3 separate regions of the Homo sapiens genome follow, and all the other regions are linked to region 1. The links are contacts of gene promoters, found by promoter capture Hi-C in blood cells and fetal thymus (Javierre and others, 2016). All regions are on one chromosome and are shown on one strand. The core of a region is centred on a gene start or on the middle of the fragment in contact, and the rest is flanking DNA. Distances in the headings are between cores, read along the strand shown. Region 1 holds the start of MYNN (myoneurin). Region 2 overlaps SKIL (SKI like proto-oncogene). Region 3 has its middle 18 kb from the start of SKIL.

Region 1 (3,641 bases), core at 649-3,148:
TATATAATAAATATATAAAAATTTATATTTATATATAATAAATATAAATATATATATTTCGATTTCTATCCTTCTGGTGTAATCTGCAAGCCTCATTCGCTACTCTTGATTTTTAGGCTGAAGGACGTGCCTGTCTTTTTGCAGGAAAAGTGAAGTTTATCAGGTCATATGAAATTCAAGTTTGGAAAAATTTGAAAGTACATTGCATGTCAATAAACGCATCTTGGTGTCTGATTCTGCATACATCTGTAGAGAATTTGAAAACAAGCAGTCAATTTAGAACTTCTGCTTGGTCTTCGGAAGCAAAAAGAGGAAATTCAAAAGTAATTTTACACGTCCTTCCACCAGAAGCTGAAAGGATGGCTTTTTCGCGGCTGAATAACGAAAGCCCCCTGCTTCGCCCCGGACTCTGAGCAGCTCAACCTGCGGAAAGGATGTGTAATAAAACGCCTTTCCAGGGAGACAAAAAAAAAAAAGGCCACCCAAAGGAAGGGCAACTCGGGAGTGCCTGGTTTCTACTGCGGTACCCGGGCACTTTGGAAGAAAGTGCGTGCAGATTCAAGCTTTTGAAATGGTTTCAGCTCTGTTCAATTGGGCATAGGCTATTTTTCCTTTTCTGTTTTTTTCTTTAAATACATTATATTCATTCCTCTCAATTTGATAATAATCACTTGAGAATTGCGAATTGACACTTACATATCAAGGACTTTACAAAACCCTCTCCAAAGTGGGGTTTCCGTAGTGTAGTGGTTATCACGTTCGCCTAACACGCGAAAGGTCCCCGGTTCGAAACCGGGCGGAAACACACTAAAAAATCCCTTTTTTTTTTTTTTTTTTTTTCCTTCGCTTGGAAGAAAGCGTGAGATCACGCTTTGTTTTCTTTTGTTGTTTGTTTTGTTTTTTTTTCTGAGGGAAGCCTTAGCTTAATGTATGCCGGTCCTTCAAAAGACATGATAGCAATTTGAGAGTCTGAACTGTAAGTTTTTGTTACTTTATTCGTTCACCAAATGTTTTTATGGAAGCCTTGCCACGTGGAACATGTGTCCCGGGTTTTAAAAAATGAATTTGACTCACCAGCTAACACTGAAAAAATAATGTACAGCCTAGAAGGAAAGATCAAAGTGTAAAAGTGGTTAGTCCTGTCGCCTCCTGAGCATTTTTGTATTATATCACTTGGTTTTTCGTCTGAAGTGGCTGTAAATAATCGTATTAAAAATCTTCTGGTCCAGACGCAGGAAAACCTTTTCCGGTATAAAGCCCACCTTCCTCTAATGTTGCGCATGCCCACTGTGCCCAGCTGCTCCGCTTTCGTGCATCCCAGACTTCTGTCACCAGGTAAGGGCATCTTGGAAGCTGAGCTACAGTTGGCTGGGGCACAAAAAAACCAGGGGGTGCCAAGAGTTTTCAGGTACGTAAGCGGGAAAGGGGTGCCAAGTCTCAGCTAAAAAATCCCCTATGGCAGAGATCCGAGTACACATGCAGCAGTTTCCACCGGTGGGGCCCCGAGGAAGGGGAGGATGATGGGAGAAGACAAGCAACTACAAGCCCCCGCACGCAGTGCGCAGCTGGCTTCAGGAGAGAGGCCCGCGGTGCTGTGCTGCCGGGCCTCGGCGCAGAGCCCCGGCAGAGCGCCAGACGCTGACTGCCGGCACCAGAATGCTCGCGATGAGGAAGACAGGCGGAGCGCTGCGAGCTAGCGAGCCCTCAGCTCTCGTATCCATGACGCCTGCTGCTTCGGGGGACCCCTGGCATGCTGGGGAGTGGGTCTCTGTGGTACATCCTGTACCGCCCTGGCCGGCGCCGGACCCCCATGGCCCCAGAACCTCCCGCACTGCCACGGGAAGACAGAGCCGGACGTGACGCCACCGTGGAAGGAAGGGAGGGGCGGAGCGTGGCTCGGTGACGTCCTCCCAAGATGGCGGAGACAGAGTGAAGAAACTGTGTTCCCCCCTTGGGTTGCTATCGGTGAGTTCCTACTTCACCCCCAGCCCGCCATCCCGGTCTCTCTAGAGCCTGGGCCATCAGAGGGCAGGCTCCTTGGAGTTCCAGCACGGGTCGGGGCGCAGGTGGAAGGCTTGGGCTAGGCAGCCCCGGGGTGGCCTGGGCCACAACCTCTGCTGTGGAAATTCGCGGGAGTGGGAGCTGGGCAGAGGGCAGGGCGGCAGAAGCCGAGGAGGGACTGGCTTTGGTTGTCACTCTCGGATGCCGCCTCGCGTAGAGAGTGGGAAGGGAGAAGGTGTGGCCTCCTTAGCGCGAGTGATAGAACCTTTGACAGCAAGCCATGGCCGGGCGCATTCCCGGCTTTCTGGGCAGCCACCTCTCGTTTTGGAGAAACTGCACTGGGGAAACTAACAGGTTTTGGTGACTTGAGAGCAGTTTTTAAAAACTCGTACTGTTCTGCCCCTATCTGTCCCAAGAGATCATGTCTTAGTGGTTTAAAAAATTTTTTTGTAACATAAGTATGTCTACTGAGCTTGAAAATCTGAGGGTTCAACAGATGTGAAAGCGTCAGGTTTTGCTGTGCTTTTTGCAGGTGGTAGAAGTGTTGCCATTCACCGTCACTTATTGATGTGTCCAAAGGATTGTGTTAGTTGATCAAGGTAACCAAAGATAGAAAGGCACTCATCCCTTCATTCTTAACCATGTATGTTTGATAAGGATTTTCAAGGGGGCTAAAATTGTTTAAGTTATGTCCTCTGTCCCTTCCCTCACTGAACGTTGATGAGAACTTACGGTTACTGATTTACTGTTTCTTTTTGTCTTTTAGATCAAGGGTAAAATTCCATTCTGATATCAAAATGCAGTATTCGCACCACTGTGAGCACCTTTTAGAGAGACTGAACAAACAGCGGGAAGCAGGTTTTCTCTGTGACTGTACCATAGTGATTGGGGAATTCCAGTTTAAAGCTCATAGGAATGTGCTGGCCTCCTTTAGTGAGTATTTTGGTGCGATCTACAGAAGCACTTCTGAGAACAATGTCTTTCTTGATCAGAGTCAGGTGAAGGCTGATGGATTTCAGAAACTGTTGGAGTTTATATACACAGGAACTTTAAATCTTGACAGGTAAAGTACACATTTTATTTTCAGTTATAAAAGCTAGTCAGTAGTCTTCACAGCAAAAGTAGATTTGTATTTTTTCCATTCATTCTCTGAACTCAAATTCTTCACCTATTTATGCACACAATGTTTGTTTTTATAAAGAAATCAGTATCACTGATTTAGGATGAGCAGGCAATATTTTTCATAAGCACAGATAATAAACAGTAAGATTTCTGACACGTTTATTTACTGAAACAAAGCCTGTGATTTCACTTATGTAAACTTGAACATTAAACACAATGAATTTATTTTATTTTATTTTTGAGACGGGCTCACCGTCACCCAGGCTGGAGTGCAGTGGGGCAATCTCGGCTCACTGCAACCTCTGCCTCCCGGGTTCAAGCGATTCTCCCACCTCAGCCTCCCTAGTAACTGGGACTACAGGTGTGCACTACCACACCTGGCTAATTTTTGTATTTTTTGGTAGAGACAGGGTTTCACCATGCTGGCCAGGCTGCAAACAAAAAATTCTAAGTTACTTCCAGTTTCCCATTGCTTTTTGGTCCTTGAATTCCTCTGGTCTTCTGTCTCCCTCATTCTG
Region 2 (3,641 bases), core at 1,068-3,567, 610 kb after region 1:
CAACTTGGCAGCATAGCAAGACCCTATCTCTAAAAAAAAATGGGTATGTGTGGTCCCAGCTACCTGGGATGCTGAGGCAGGAAGATTGCTTGAACCCAGGAGTTAGAGGTTACAGTGAGCCATGATCATACCACTACGCTCCAGCCTGGGTTACTTGCAAACTAACAAAAAATCCCTTATAATTTTGTTTGTAATGCCTAAAGTGTTGATTTTTTTCCTAAGAATTCTTTACTGTGACCTTTATTTTCTGAGTTGTAATATTGTCTGTTTTGGTTAGAAAAAAAAAAGTTTAACCACAGAAATGCATGTTACATATTTGATTTTTACTTAATTGTAATATGTAATATATGTCTTGTTTTGCTTTTACTTGTTTTCAGCTACTACTTATACATGTGTGATAAAGTGGTTGCCCCAAATGTGTCACTTACTTCTGCTGTATCCCAGTCTAAAGAGCTCACAAAGACAGAGGCAAGTAAGTCCATATCAAGACAGTCAGAGAAGGCTCACAGTAGTGGTAAACTTCAAAAAACAGTGTCTTATCCAGATGTCTCACTTGAGGAACAGGAGAAAATGGATTTAAAAACAAGTAGAGAATTATGTAGCCGTTTAGGTAAGTATTCAGAGATTATCTTTCTAAAATTAAATATCTAATGAACACATTTATTGAGCATTTTCAAACAGGCTTTTTGTTTGAGCTAAATTTTCAGATAATTGGAGCTTTTACCTTTAAAAATGCTACCCTTCAAAACTCTGGGTGATTTATTTTAATCTCAGTTGCTATACTTTTCTAGCGTGGTGATAGCTCAGGAGACTGAGATAGATACAGGCTACCTGGCCTCAGACTGCAAGTTATTTTTGTCCGAATTTTTTTCCTTTCCTACCTTTTATTTGCTGTCAGTCTTCAGGAGATCCTTGTTTTTCTTTCCTCCTTTTTTTTTCTTTTTTTGTGACAGAGTCTTTATCGCCTAGGCTGAAGTGCAGTGGTGAGATTGCGGTCACTGCAGCCTCAACCTTTGGGCTCAAGTGATCCTCCCACCTCACCCTCCCTAGTAGCTGGGACCAGAGGCGCACACCACTGTGCCTGGCTAATTAAAAAAAAAAATTTTTTTTTTTTTTTTTGTAGAGATGGTCTTGGTATGTTGCTCAAGCTGGTCTCGAACTCCTGGGCTCAAGTGATCCTCCTGCCTTGGCCTCTCAAAGTGTTGGGATTACAGTTGTGAGCCACCGCACCCAACCTTTATTTTTCTTTCTGATTTGCCATGAACTGAGACACCATTTAATAATAAGAAGTATTATGTAAGTAAGAGTAGTTAGGTATAGAACTCAAGGAAGCTTAGTTATGGAATAAAGCAAGGATTGAAAGCTCTGGGGGCCAGGCATATAGCATAAATGTGGAATATTGACTGGTCATTTAAAAGAAAAATAGCTGGTTACTTACCGTGCCTTTTAAAATACTGTGGATTAAATGAGACATGTCTGCAGATATTGCCTGTGTTACCATCCATATAGCAGCACAGCTTTGCTTAGTGATTAGGCAGTGTGACAGTTACTTTAGCTGCATTGGAACAGTTGGAGGGTCCTCTATTTATTTAAGTTTTTATAGAGAATTGAGATTCTTGGGGGTTTTCTTTTCTTTCTTTCTTTCTTTTTTTTCTTTTTTTTTTTTGAGGAGTTTCACTCTTGTTGCCCAGGCTGGAGTAAAATGGTGAGATCTCAGCTCACCGCAACCTCCACCTCCCAGATTCTCCTGCCTCAGCCTCCTGAGTAGCTGAGATTACAGGCATGCACCACCACACCCCGCTAATTTTGTATTTTTAGTAGAGACGGGTTTTCTCCATGTTGGTCAGGCTGGTCTTGAACTCCTGACCTCAGGTGATCCGCCTGCCTCGGCCTCCCAACCAAAGTGCTGGGATTCCAGGCGTGAGCCACCACGCCTGGCTGATTCTTGGGTGGGGGTTTTCTGGTTTTTTTGTTTGTTTGTTTGTTTGTTTGGAGACAGAGTTTCGTATTTGTTGCCCAGGCTAGAGTGCAACGGTGTGATCTCGGCTCACTGCAATCTCCGCCTCCCAGGTTCAAGTGATTCTCCTGCCTCAGCCTCCTGAGCAGCTGGGATTATAGGCATGCACCACCACGCCCGGCTAATTTTGTATTTTTAGTAGACACGGGGTTTTTCCATGTTGGTCAGTCTGGTCTCGAACTCCTGACCTCAGGTGATCCGCCTGCCTCGGCCTCCCAAAGTGCTGGGATTACAGGCGTGAGCCATCGCGCCCGGCCAGGGGTTTTCTATACATTTATTTTGAGGGTTTTTTGTTTCGTTTTTCTTTTTTAGAGACAGAGTCTCACTCTGTTGCTCTAGGCTGGTGGAGTACAGTGATGCATTCATAGCTCACCGCAGCTTCAAATTGCTGGGCTCATAGTCCTTGCACCTCAGCCTCCCTAGTAGCTAGGACTACAGGCATGTGCCACTGCGCCTGCCTCATTTTTTCATTTTTTTTGTAGAGACAGGGTCTCACTGTATTGCCCAGGCTGGCATTAAGCTCTTAGCCTCAAGTGATCCTCCTGCCTTGGCCTCCTAAAGCATTGGGATTACAGATGTGAGCCACCATGCCTGGCCAATTTTGAGATTTTTAAAACTCAGTTTTCTTCAGATTTAAATATGGTAAACAAAAATTAGTAATGACTATTATGCCATATTTACATTGTATTTTATTTCTTAAATTAATTCTAATGACTTCTAAAAAATTATTGAGATAATTTATATACCATAAAATTTACCCTTTTAAAGCCTACAATTCAGTGGTTTTTAATACATTCACAAAGTTGTGCAACCATCACAGCTAATTTAGTTCCATAATGTTTTCTTTTCTTTCTTTTTTTTTAAGATGGAGTTTCACTCTTGTCGCCCAGGCTAGAGTGCAGTGGGGTGATTTCGGCTCACTGCAAGCTCTGCCTCCCGGGTTCAAGCGATTCTCCTGCCTCAGCCTCCTGAGTAGCTGGGATTACAGGCGTGTGTCACCACGCCTGGCTAATTTTTTTGTATTATTAGTAAGAGACAGGGTTTTCGCCATGTTAGTCAGGCTGATCTTGAACTCCTGACCTTAGGTGATCCACCCGCCTCGGCCCATAATGTTTTCATCACTCCAAAAATTAACCCTATAATCCATTAGGAGTCACTCCCTGATTCTCCCTTTCTCGAAGCCTCTGGCAACCACTAATCTATTTTCTATCTTTATGGATTTGCTTATTCTGGACATTTCATATAAAAGGAATTGTACAATATGTGGCTTTTCATGTCTGGTCAAGAAGCTTATGCTTCTTTCATGAAAGATAATGTTTTCACAGTCCATGTTGTTGCATGTACCAGTACTTCTTTTTATGGCCTGATAAGATTCCATTATGTGAATATACCACATTTTTTTTATTCCTTCGTCAGTCGGACATTTGCATTGGGTCTACTTTTTGGCAATTAAGAATAATGCTGCTATAGGCCGGGCGCGGTGGCTCACGCCTGTAATCCCAGCACTTTGGGAGGCCGAGGCGGGCGGATCACGAGGTCAGGAGATCGAGACCATCCCGGCTAAAACGGTGAAACCCCGTCTCTACTAAAAAAAAAAAAAAATACAAAAAAATTAGCCGGGCGT
Region 3 (3,641 bases), core at 530-3,029, 570 kb after region 1:
AAATATAGTCCAAAGAAAGCAAAATACCATTCCACATTTGATAATGCTTCCTGTATGATTCTTATACCAAATAAGCCAAATTTCACCTTCACATTAATGTACTATTAATGTTAAACCCAATTTTTAATAAAACCTTATAGACATATTTACCCAATTTTAATGTTTAGCCGTAAGGTAAGATTCTTATAAACCTTTTATAACCCCTTCTTTTTTTTTTTTTTTTTTTGTGAAAGAGCAGATTAGTGCTCTAAGAAAAACCTGTTGTGCTTTTATTCCAATATTTAATTTATGGAAAAACTGAATAATACCCCTTTAACTTTAGTCAACATGTTCACATACAGAATTTCTTAAAATTAATTTTTATAAACCTTCCATAACTTGTTTAAACCTTTAGCTTTACTCTAAGTTAAAACAATTCTTTAACCCTTTAGGCAATAAAACCATATTCCCATGCCTTGTTATAATCTTTTACCAAAAGTACATTCTACTTTCCTTAGACATCTTACATGTAAAATTGTTTATTCAATAGTCTCAATTACATGTCACAATGTTAACTTTTAGCCACTTCTACTTTTGGTGAAAACCCTGGTTAGTAAGCCATTTTAATTGTGTACTAGGTGTGAAGCTTAGCCTAGGACATACCACACAGAAGTGCAGATAAGGGCTGACTCTCCAGCATAGCTAGGGGGCAAGGCTAACTCCACACAGCCCCAGGCCTTACCTTACTTAAGCAGGCAAGTTGTACAGTAAGAGTCATAGTGGCATTTTATGAAGCATTTAGGAGACCTAACAACCTTTGAATTGTACATTTCTTGCATAAATTCCCTTTCACGACTTACACAGACCATCTGAGACATTCTTGGACTTTGTGACTTGCCCTAAACTTCCCTCCTTTTAAACAACCCATCAATTTACTTTAGAACAAGAATTTATCACACAAGATCTTTTCTTACATAAAATCTCTTTCTTTATAATCTTCTTTGTATAGCTAGGGGGCATGGCTAATTCCACATGTCTGCAGGCCTTATCTAGAATCTAATGGCTTTAAGATATCCATTGAACAATTTTTAAAAGTTAAAGAAGCAGTTTATGACCTTAAAGCATTTAGCAAACTTAATATTTGACCTGTATAATTTAGACTAAATGTTTTATCAATAATTTTTAAAGCTGTTTTTATTTCCCAAAGATTACTGAAGTCACATGAACTAAAAGGCATTACAGTTTGTGTTTTGCTTTCAAAATATATATATATATTTTTTGAGCCAGAGTCTCACTCTGTCACCCAGGCTAGAGTGCAGTGTGCAATCTGGGGTCACTGCAACCTCTGCCTCCCAAGTTCAAGTGATTCTCCTCCCTCAGCCTCCCGGGTAGCTGGGACTACAAGCAGGCACCACCATGCCTGGCTAATGTTTGTATTTTTGGTAGAGATGGGGTTTCACCATGTTGGCCAGGCTGGTCTTGAACTCCTGATCTCAGGTGATCCACCCACTTCAGCCTCCCAAAGTGCTGGGATTATAGGCATGAGACACCGCACCTGGCCATGCTTTCAAAATATTTGATTTAAGTGATTATTTTTGTTTAAGCCAATTAATTAGAGCTTTTTTGTATAAACATTATACACAACACATATACAGGTACACAGAAAGACAGAAGAAGATTACTACAGTAGGTGTAAGATTTTTCATTTGCCAGTTTTTAAGTTTCTTTTTTTTTTTTTGAGACAGAGTGTTGCTCTGTCACCTGGGCTGGAGTGCAGTGGCACAATCTAGGCTCACTGCCTACGTTCACACCATTCTCCTGCCTCAGCCTCCTGAGTAGCTGGGACTACAGGCGCCCACTACCATGTCTGGCTAATTTTTTTTTTTTTTTTTTGAGATGAAGTCTTGCTCTTGTTCCCGAGGCTGGAATGCAGTGGCACTGTCTCGGCTCACTGCAACATCCCCCTCCCGGGTTCAGTTGATTCTCCTGCCTCATCCTCCCAAGTAGCTGGGATTACAGGTGCATACCACCACATCCAGATAATTTTTTGTGTTTTAAGTACAGACGGGGTTTCACCATGTTGGCCAAGCTGGTCTGGGATTCCTGACCTCAGGTGATCTGCCCACCTCGGCCTCTCAAAGTGTTGGAATTACAGGCGTGAGCCACCGCGCCCAGCCAATTTTTTGTATTTTTTAGTAGATTCGGGGTTTCACTGTGTTAGTCAGGATGGTCTCGATCTCCTGACCTCATGATCCACCTGCTTCAGCCTCCCAGACTGCTAGGATTACAAGTGTGAGCCACTATGCCCGGCCTGGTTTTTAAGTTTCTTAATTGCATTAATGGCTTTATGGTGGAGCCCTTGGAAGAACATGGCCAGGAAAGGGGTCTCCTGTGCCTCCTGTTTTTCCCAAGGAGTCCAGGCTGTTAGAGCTTGAATATCCACTTTTAATTATACTGATTTTAACCATAGCACTCTTTATTAAAGTTCCTTTAGAATTTCTTATGCCAAATGGCAGATATTTCTGGCTTTTTAAACTTACCAAAGGTAATCTCCCAGGTACATAGAGAAAGGAAAATGTAAGACAGTCTGTGGAGGAGAAGAGAATAGACAAGTTTACGCAGATATTAAACCAGAAACGACTTACTTCCTAGGTGGGGAATCAAACCTGGACCACCACTGTGAAAGTGTAAAATCTCAGCTTCTGAGCTACAGCATGGGCAGTCCCCACTTCTTTTCCTGGAACGAGCCTAGAGTAGTTAATTTTGAGCTTCCAAAGGCTTTTTAACAATTTAATATGATTTTTAGAGATGAATATGATATAAATCCTAAAATTCCTGTTCCCTGATGGCAGAGACCAAAATAAAGTACTGCCACATGGTTAAAAGGTCAGGCTCCCAAGAACATAAAAAAACGTGGAGACTTCATCCAGTTTTTTTGTTTCAGGGAGCTGCAGCCAAGCTTGTTACTGACCAGCTTGCTGGGTGGTCTTGAAAAGTGGGCTTACAGGTGTTCCAAGTCCGTGTTTTATCCTAAAGTACCCTTCAACACAGAAAAACAAATTCATAGCACAAAATACACCAGCTTAAGATTAGCCTTAGAATTCTTTTCACATTAATCAAAACTTTACAGAGGAAATAAGCACTGGTTTTTGTTTGTTTGTTTGTTTGTTTTGTTTTGTTTTAACCATTCATCAAACCATCTGTACAGAGAGATAAGCCAGAAATCTGACTGGTAGGAAAATTCTTACCCTTTTGCCAGCACACCAGGCTTCTGGGTTCCCTTTCCCTGAGCAGCACTACTGATCAGGCTTGTGGCACCATCGCCCTGGGGGCCAAGCCGCATCATAAAGGGAAATTACATTTTTTTTCATTTTGGCCAGAGCAAAATATGTGTGATAAAACATAGACATTAGCCACTCTGCTTAGCAACCAATATCAAACTGACAAGGCTTAAATTTGCCCCCAGATGAACCTCGTCATTTTTTGTTTGTTTTTTGTGTTTTGTGACAGAGTCTCACTCTGTTGCCCAGGCTGTAGTGCAGTGGCACGTTCTCGGCTTACTGCAACTTCTGCCTCCCGGGTTCAAGCTATTCTCCTGCCTCAGACTCCCAAGTAGCTGGGATTATAGGCGCCCGCCACCACACCCAGATAATTTTTGTATT

The links. The method cuts DNA at HindIII sites, captures the fragments that hold promoters and counts their contacts. A CHiCAGO score of 5 or more calls a contact.
Region 2: a fragment that was not itself captured here is called in contact with the fragment with the promoter of MYNN in region 1 in 4 of 17 cell types (neutrophils, naive B cells, total CD4 T cells and 1 more); the score reaches 11.6 in neutrophils.
Region 3: a fragment that was not itself captured here is called in contact with the fragment with the promoter of MYNN in region 1 in 1 of 17 cell types (fetal thymus); the score reaches 5.0 in fetal thymus.

Annotation. Positions count from the first base shown.
Region 1 is chr3:169,771,498-169,775,138 of GRCh38, forward strand. It overlaps MYNN (myoneurin), which reads left to right and starts at 1,899. Exons shown (of 8, transcript NM_018657.5): 1 at 1,899-1,965; 2 at 2,768-3,064. The coding sequence starts at 2,799. It overlaps TRV-AAC1-1 (tRNA-Val (anticodon AAC) 1-1), which reads left to right and starts at 733; the gene lies at 733-805. RefSeq lists enhancers at 449-548, 1,439-1,988, 1,562-2,065, 1,704-1,998. The HindIII fragment of the contact is 7,916 bases long and covers 562-3,641 here.
Region 2 is chr3:170,384,156-170,387,796 of GRCh38, forward strand. SKIL (SKI like proto-oncogene) reads left to right here. Exons shown (of 7, transcript NM_005414.5): 4 at 378-610. Among named protein-coding and RNA genes, the nearest start is that of SKIL, 28 kb to the left of the region's middle. RefSeq lists a silencer at 362-562. The HindIII fragment of the contact is 1,974 bases long and covers 1,331-3,304 here.
Region 3 is chr3:170,338,135-170,341,775 of GRCh38, forward strand. No RefSeq gene overlaps it. Among named protein-coding and RNA genes, the nearest start is that of SKIL, 18 kb to the right of the region's middle. RefSeq lists a silencer at 554-754. The HindIII fragment of the contact is 2,313 bases long and covers 624-2,936 here.